3 separate regions of the Homo sapiens genome follow, and regions 2 and 3 are each linked to region 1. Evidence: promoter capture Hi-C in human tissues and cell types (Jung and others, 2019). All regions are on one chromosome and are shown on one strand. The core of a region is centred on a gene start or on the middle of the fragment in contact, and the rest is flanking DNA. Distances in the headings are between cores, read along the strand shown.

The links. The method cuts DNA at HindIII sites, captures the fragments that hold promoters and counts their contacts. A contact is called where the count stands out against the background at its distance.
Region 2: a fragment that was not itself captured here is called in contact with the fragment with the promoter of MCU in region 1 in 1 of the 25 tissues and cell types used here (mesenchymal stem cells).
Region 3: a contact is called between a fragment that was not itself captured here and the fragment with the promoter of MCU in region 1, in 1 of the 25 tissues and cell types used here (hippocampus).

What each region holds. Positions count from the first base shown.
Region 1 is chr10:72,690,586-72,693,548 of GRCh38, forward strand. It overlaps MCU (mitochondrial calcium uniporter), which reads left to right and starts at 1,558. Exons shown (of 8, transcript NM_138357.3): 1 at 1,558-1,716. The coding sequence starts at 1,567. RefSeq lists enhancers at 1,176-1,235, 2,906-2,963 and silencers at 1,436-1,895, 1,986-2,035, 2,056-2,145. The HindIII fragment of the contact is 2,893 bases long and covers 1-2,743 here.
Region 2 is chr10:73,022,442-73,025,427 of GRCh38, forward strand. All of the region lies in intron 10 of P4HA1 (prolyl 4-hydroxylase subunit alpha 1), which reads right to left. Among named protein-coding and RNA genes, the nearest start is that of PLA2G12B, 69 kb to the left of the region's middle. The HindIII fragment of the contact is 5,177 bases long and covers 1-2,986 here.
Region 3 is chr10:73,135,765-73,138,464 of GRCh38, forward strand. ECD (ecdysoneless cell cycle regulator) reads right to left here. Exons shown (of 14, transcript NM_007265.3): 12 at 2,239-2,306; 13 at 940-1,154. Among named protein-coding and RNA genes, the nearest start is that of SNORA11F, 11 kb to the left of the region's middle. The HindIII fragment of the contact is 3,377 bases long and covers 1-2,700 here.

The DNA.
Region 1 (2,963 bases), core at 308-2,807:
TGTTTTGGTGTAGGTGGGGCATAAGGATTAAACAAACAAAAAACTTCCACGTCATTTTTTAGCTATTCTTGGCCAAGAAGGTACCATTTCAGTCAAACTTTAAAGAATATTCTTAGAATAAGTGATAACATTTTCTTCGTATTTATGTGTGTGTTTTGTTTTTGTTTTAAATTTATCATCTAAGGCTACACTACAAAGATGTTTTCCAAAATTTAAAATAATGCTTGTATTTGCTTCCCAAACTATTTTCCTGCTCCAGATTTTAAAAAGAGGTGTGAGAATTTAATCAGCTCATAATAATAAACAGCTAGCAAGGAAATACTCTTCTAAGGAAATTCAGGACCCAAAATCTTTCTTAGGCAGTATTCAAGGAGCCCTCATTGTGAGTTTAAGTGGAAAGAAGTGTTTTTCAAGAGAAAGTGTTTGTTATTCCAAAGCGTATTCTGATAACTATTTCGGCAAAATTATGAAGCATCATTAAAATAGCCTTTTACATGAATTTTTTTTTTTTTTTTTGAGATGGAGTCTTGCTGTGTCGCCCAGGCTGGAGTGCAATGGCCCGATCTCGGTTCACTGCAAGCTCCGTCTCCCGGGTTCACACCATTCTCCTGCCTCAGCCTCCGGAATAGCTGGGACTATAAGCGCCCGCCACCACGCCTGGCTAATTTTTTGTATTTTTAGTACAGATGGGGTTTCACCGTGTTAGCCAGGATGGTCTCGATCTCCTGACCTCGTGATCCGCCCGCCTCTGCCTCCCAAAGTGCTGGGATTACAGGCGTGAGCCACCGCGCCCGGCCTTACATGATTTTTTATTACGTTATTAATGTGTTCTGTTTCTGTAAATGCACACAAAGTCAAATATGATAAAATAGTGCTGTTTCTGGAGAGTGTGAGAATATCCGTATAAAGGTGCTGTAAAAATGAATTGGGTATTTGAGATGTATACACGTCAGTTAATTCACTCTGAAGGCATGTACTCATTCTGGGACTTTGATATTGTAATCGTTCTACCTCTCCTATATTATGCTACGCATCACAGTCATTAGATCACTCCGTGATGTAGAGTTAATTTCAGCATATCTAAATATTATCAGTTATGAATGATAATTCTAGGCGTGTAGTTGAGAGTTACAGCATACACCGTTAATGGTTATTAATTTGGTGCCTATTTTGCCAACTTAGAACACTCACTTAGAACTCAACTTCGAACAAAGCTTTTCACAAATATCTATATCCCCCGTTACTCTTATCATAGCTCTATTGTTGGTGAAGATTAGCCGAACTGAACATGCCATCTCTATTGCTGTTATTTTCACGGGTTTGGGTGTCAATTATGGGTTCCCTAGAATTTGCCCGTAATTGACTATGTCCCACTATAGGTAACTCTGGAAGGGACTGGCAGCTTCCAGTGTGGTTCTCCCGCCTGTCGATTGGACCTTGCAGGAAGCCCCGCCTCATCAACTCAGTCAAGGGCTTTAGTTGGCCCGGCGTCGGTGAGTGGCGGGTCTTAGCTCCGCCCTGGCCGTCCGCTGCGCTGCCTGGGTCGGCGCCGTTTCCAGTTGAGAGATGGCGGCCGCCGCAGGTAGATCGCTCCTGCTGCTCCTCTCCTCTCGGGGCGGCGGCGGCGGGGGCGCCGGCGGCTGCGGGGCGCTGACTGCCGGCTGCTTCCCTGGGCTGGGCGTCAGCCGCCACCGGCAGCAGCAGCACCACCGGACGGTGAGCGAGCGCGCCCGGAGGCTCCGGGGAGGGCGGGGCGGCGCTGGCGTGTGGGAGCCGCCGGCGGGCAGGCCGCCGGGGCAGCAGGCGAGTTACCTCAACTCCCGGCCGCTCCGGAGGTTGCCGGGCACCGAGGAGCCGCCGTGCCCTTCAGGCGCCTGCGGCGGCGACCAGGAAGGGAGGGCGGGCGGGAGGAAGCCGAGAGGAGGAGGAGGGGCGACGGCGGGGATGTTCCCGCAGGACTGGGGACACCAGGGCGGGGAAGGCACGGGACTTGAACCTCTCCCCGACTCGCCCCCAATCGCGTTCCCTCCCTTCTTCGTTCTTAACAGCCCTGCCCCAAGGCTCCCTGAACGGAGCCAGATGGAAGTTGTCCCCTTTCCCTCCTCCTCCGGGCGGGTTGGGGAGTTCTGAGTTGCCGCGGCCGCCTTGTGTGTGCCAGGAGAGTGGCAGTGCCATGCTGCTGGGAGCTGCCCCGGAGAGCAGCCCAGGACCCCGGCGGGGCCGCCCCTCGTCCTCTCTCGTCCCCGAGGGGTCGGGCAGGAAGGAAAATCAAACTTTATTCCCCTCTGTGACTTCCTCTGTGTGTGTGCATGGGGAACCGGCTCCCTCGAGATGGATGCTGCATTGCTTCAGGAGGCAAGCTTCATCCTCTTGGGTCCTTAAAGGTGCTTTTGGGGGTCCTTTCGAGGGCTACTGTATAAGCGTGTTCACGCGTGCCTGAAGCGGGAAGGGTGGTCAGCAGGCACAGGAGAAGCGAATATGGTAAGTTGTTGACAGAGGCAGAGATTTGGTGGTTGTATTAACCAGTTGTTGCTGGGTTTCATTGGCTGGCAGAAAAAGAGGATTTCTGTTTGAACACTCTTGGGTGAGTGTGTGTGTGTGTGTGTGTGTGTGTGAGAGAGAGAGAGACAGAGTGTGAGAGAGATTTCTTTTTTCAATTGCAAGAGATGAATTTGGCATGGAGTTCTTAACCTAACAAGTCAGGAGGTTTCCTTCCCTTGGACTTTCTAGACCTATATGTGTTGGTCTCTGGCCAGCTCTGAGGGAAAGAATGTAGGTTTTATTTGCTGGGGCTGAGTTGTATAGTGTGATTATTGGAGGATCACTGCAAACAGCTTGATAGGAGAAACTACAATAGTACCTTCAACCCTCAATAAACACATCGCCTGCCTTGTTCTGATCATAACTCTTAAGAGGAAACTGAACTGGAGCTCTTCGGAGAGGATACTCCTAAGGCCAATGAC
Region 2 (2,986 bases), core at 455-2,954, 330 kb after region 1:
GCATCAACATCAACAAAAAGGTCATCTACACCAAAACCCCATCTGTAGGTCACCAACATCGAAGGCCAAAGGTAGACAAAACCACAAAGATGGGGAGAAACCAGAGCAGAAAAGCTGAAACTTCTAAAGATCAGAGCACCTCCTCTCCTCCAAAGGACTGCAGCTCCTCACAAGCAACAGAACAAAGCTGGACAGAGAATGACTTTGATGAGCTGACAGAAGTAGGCTTCAGAAGGTCGGTAATAACAAACCTCCCAGCTAAAGAAGCATGTTCTAAGCCATCGCAAGGAAGCTAAAACCCTTGAAAAAAGGTTAGACGAATGGCTAACTAGAACAAACAGTGTAGAGAAGACCTTGAATGACCTGATGGAGCTGAAAACCATGGCATAAGAACGTCATGGTGCATGCACAAGCTTCGGTAGCCGATTTGATCAAGTGGAACAAAGGGTATCAGTGATTGAAGATGGAATTAATGAAATAAAGCAAGAAGACAAGTTTAGAGAAAAATGAGTAGAAAGAAACAAATAAAGCCTCCAAGAAATATGGGACTATCTAAAAAGACCAAATCTATGTTTGATTGGTGTACACCTGAAAGTGACGGGGAGAATGGAAACAGGCTGAAAAACACTATTCAGGAAATTATCCAGGAGAATTTCCCCAACCTAGCAAGGCAGGCCAACAGTCAAATTCAGAAATACAGAGAACACCACAAAGATACTTCTCGAGAAGAGCAACCACAAGACACGTAATTGTCAGATTCACCAAGGCTGAAATGAAGGAAAAAATCTTAAGGGCAGCCAGAGAGAAAGGTCGGGTTACCCACAAAGGGAGGCCCATCAGACTAACAGTGGATCTCTCTGCAGAAACCCTACAAGCAAGAAGAGAGTGGGGGCCAATATTCAACATTCTTAAAAAAAAGAATTTTCAACCCAGAATTTCATATCCAGCCAAACTAAGCTTTCTAAATAAAGGAGAAATAAAATCCTTTGCAGACAAGCAAATGCTGAGAGATTTTGTCACCACCAGGCCTGTCTTACAAGAGCTCCTGAAGGAAGCACTAAACATGGAAAGGAACAACTGGTACCAGCCACTGCAAAAACATGCCAAATTATAAAGACCATCGATGCTATGAAGAAACCGCATCAATTAACGAGCAAAATAACCAGCGAACATCATAATGACAGGATCAAATTCACATATAACAATATTAGCCTTAAATGTAAATGGGCTAAATGTCCCAATGAAAAGGCACAGACTGGCAAATTGGATAAAGAGTCAAGACCCATCAGGAGACACATCTCATGTGCAGAGACACACATAGGCTCAAAATAAAGGGATGGAGGAAGATCTACGAAGCAAATGGAAAGAAAAAAAAAAAAAAAAGCAGCGGCTGCAATCCTAGTCTCTGATCAAACAGACTTTAAACCAACACAGATCAAAAGAGACAAAGAAGGCCATTACGTAATGGTATAGGGATCAATTCAACAAGAAGTGCTAACTATTCTAAATATATATGCACCCAATACAGGGGCACCCAGATTCATAAGGCAAGTCCTTAGAGTCCTAAAAAGAGACTTAGACTCTCACACAATAATAATGAGAGACTTTAACACTCCACTGTCAATATGAGATCAACAAGACAGAAGGTTAACAAGAATATCCAGGACTGGAACTCAGCTCTGCACTAAGCAGACCATTATAATAGACATCTACAGAACTCTGTCCACCCCAAATCAACAGAATATACATTCTTCTCAGCACCACATCACACTTATTCTAAAACTGACCACATAATTGGAAGTAAAGCACTCCTCAGCAAATGTAAAAGAACAGAAATCACAACAAACTGTCTCTCAGACCACAGTGCAATCAAATTAGAACTCAGGATTAAGAAACTCACTCAAAACCACACAACTACATGGAAACTGAACAACCTGCTCCTGAATGACTACTGGGTAAATAACGAAATGAAGGCAGAAATAAACATGTTCTTTGAAACCAATGAGAACAAAGACACAACGTACCAGAATCTCTGGGACACATTTAAAGCAGTGTAGAGGAAAATTTATAGCACTAAATGCCCACAAGAGAAAGCAAGAAAGACCTAAAATCGACACCCTAACATCACAATTAAAAGAACAAGAGAAGCAAGAGCAAACAAATTCAAAAGCTAGCAGAAGGCAAGAAATAACTCAGATCAAAGCAGAACTGAAAGAGATACAGACATAAAAAACCCTTCAAAAAATCAATGAATCCAGGAGCTGGTTTTTTGAAAAGATCAACAAAATTGATAGACAGCTAGCAAGACTAATAAAGAAGAAAAGAGAGAATAATCAAATAGACACAGTAAAAAATGATAAAGGGGATATCACCACAGATCCCACAGAAATACAAACTACCATCAGAGAATACTATAAACACCTCTATGCAAATAAACTAGAAAATCTAGAAGAAATGGATAAATTCCTGGACACATACACCCAAGACCAAACCAGGAAGAAGTTGAATCTCTGAATAGAAAAATAACAGACTCTGAAATTGAGGCAATAACAGCCTACCAACTAAAAAAAGTTCAGGACCAGATGGATTCACAGCCGAATTCTATCAGAGGTACTAAGAGGAGCTGGTACCATTCCTTCTGAAACTATTCCAATCAACAGAAAAAGAGGGAATCCTCCCTAACTCATTTTATGAGGCCAGTATCATCCTGATACCAAAGCCTGGCAGAGACACAACAAAAAAAGAGAATTTTAGGCCAATATCGCTGATGAACATCGACGCAAAAATCCAACCGAATCCAGCAGCACATCAAAAAGCTTATCCACCACAATCAAGTCAGCTTCATCCCTGGGATGCAAGGCTGGTTCAACATACACAAATCAATAAACGTAATCCATCACATAAACAGAACCAATGACAAAAACCACATGATTATCTCAATAGATGCAGAAAAGGCCTTTGACAAAATTCAACAGCCCTTCATGCT
Region 3 (2,700 bases), core at 187-2,686, 450 kb after region 1:
ATAAAAAAAAGGAAAATCTCAAGCTTCATCCCAGGCCTACTTAATCAGAATCTATGTTGTAACATGATCTTTTGGTTTATATTCGCATTAAAATTTAAGAAATACTGCTTTAGATAAATCTAATGTATGGTTTCTACTAGATTTTGACAATTCTGGAAGTGACTATAGTTTTAAAAGTGGTTTAGATGATCAAAGCAAGGAGAATTAACATTAATTAAAGGCCTATTGTAGGTTTTACTGCTGTCTAATTTGGTTCTCATGTTAATTTTATGATATGAGGATTACTGGTTTATAGATACATTCACAGTGGACAGCTGAGCTAGACTTCAAACCCTAACCCATAAGACTCCAGGGTTCTTGCTCTTTCCATAATACCTCTGTTTAGGATTAGACAGTGGTGGCATTAAAAACTAGGATGAAAACATAAACGGAAGGTGAATCCTAAATTTGGCTCTAAATTAGGGAAAAATACAAAATAAACTGTTAAAACTGGAAAGTTATTTGAATGTTTAAGATCCTGTTTATTTACTTATGTTATTTTGTTTTAATCCACTGTGGCCCAAGGCATAGTCTCAAAAGGTCTTGAGAACATGTGCCCTCTCTTTTTTAAAATCCATTTAAGCTGTAGTTTTTTTAAACTACTTTTGAAAAAAAATGTATTTAAGAAGTAGTAGTGTACAATCGCATTCTAATTTGAGCATATTATATGACTTTTTATTTTAAATCCTGATAGATAACGTAGAATAAGTAATATAATGAAGCTTATGTTTTGGAAAATTAAGTCTATGATCCTTTATCCTACCAGAGTTAGGAAAACAATTAACATTCTTATTTATTTCAAATCTCACACACCAAAAAAAGAAAAACTATGATAAAATATGGTTTTAGCTATCTGACATACTAGACTCAGAAAGAGAAAGAGGTTAAAAACACACATACCACTTGGTTCCTAGTGGTGAAACTTTTGCTGATGCAGGTGTGTGCTAGTTCCTGGTCCATCTGGGCCATGTATGACTTGAGATTATCAAGTGTTCCTTTCAGGGAAGCCTCTTCGCCAGGTTCGTGTGTTTCAAAGTCCAAGTCATCATCACTATCTAAACATTCAAAGTCTTCATCATCCAGATCATCAGAATCTGACTCATTAGGCCTTGGCCCTACACAGATCCCAAGAAAGAAAGAGCCACTTAGTAATTATTATTATTATTATTATTATTATTATTATTTAGTTACTACACATCTCAAAATAATTAGAATGTTACCCACAGAAAAAGACTAATACACACAGTCAGTCTACTTCACAAAAATCCCTTCTACAAATGGTAATGCTGGCAGATATGTGTGCATTTAATGTTGTGGAAAAGCGTACAAGCTGAATCAAAAGATTTAGCTTAAAAAAAAGTGAATTCAATTAATTAAAATATTTTTCTTAAAAAATTTTTAAAAATACCTAATAAATGAATACATTTTGATGTAAACATTCAAGCCATACAAGTATTGTCTCCAATCTCACTCTCTCCCCAGAGGTAAGCATCTTTTAGCAGTTTCCGGGTATCCCAATCTTTCTCTCTGCAGTTCTGTACATATATACATATTATAATTATTTTTTGAGTTATCTTTTTATTACTGATTTGTAAGTACAGTAATTCCAAAAAAGAACAATATAATATGGGAGCCAAGGTAAAACCCTATTTAAACACACAGCATTCAGTCACTCTCAAATATTTAATGAGGCCGGGCACGGTGGCTCACGCCTGTAATCCCAGCACTTTGGTAGGCTGAGATGGGCGGATCATGAGGTCAGGAGATCGAGACCATCCTGGCTAACACGGTGAAACCCCGTCTCTACTAAAAATACAAAAAAATTAGCTGGGTGTGGTGGCAGGCGCCTGTAGTCCCAGTTACTCAGGAGGCTGAGGCAGAAGAATGGCATGAACCCAGGAGGCGGAGCTTGCAGTGAGCCGAGATCGTGCCACTGCACTCCAGCCTGGGCAACAGAGCGAGACACTGTCTCAAAAAAAAAAAAAAAAAATTAATGAGCAGCTACTATATATGTCAAACACTAAGCTAGGCAGCCTCTACAAAATTATTCATGGGTAGTAATTCATGGTTGAAAGCAACTCAAACCAGGAAGAGAAAGCAAACATTTTGGCTTCTGAGATATCTCATAAACCAATGCTCTAGCAACAGCCATACTACTAACAGTTTCAAAATGAAAGTCAACATCACACCACTACTTACCTAAAATCTTATCAAAATAATTAAGAAAAGAATCTGCATCAAAAGTGATTGGAGCCTCAGAAGGTTCTCTGCAATATTAAAGGACAAAGACAATTAATTTATTCTAAATACAACTCTTTGAAACTTTTCTAAAGTGGTGCCATTCTTAGGAAAGCTACCAAAGATAGAATTTCTAAGGAGGCACAGCAAGAAAAGTTGTAGTTTAAGTTTTAAAAATCCTTGAGTTTACTGGCCTTGCAGGACAACAGAAATGGGAAAGTCTGATAAATGAAAAGTAAAAATTGCATCTTGTTTATGTACATTTAGCTTATGCTGATTTAGGGACCTACCCACTCTCTAGCCCCAATAAGATATCTAGCATTAGCAAAACCATTATTTATTTGAGTTAATTTAAATAAAGCCTGTTCTTTTAAGAACTAAAGCTTAAAAAATAAACAAGAACATATCTTCCCTTATCCCTGC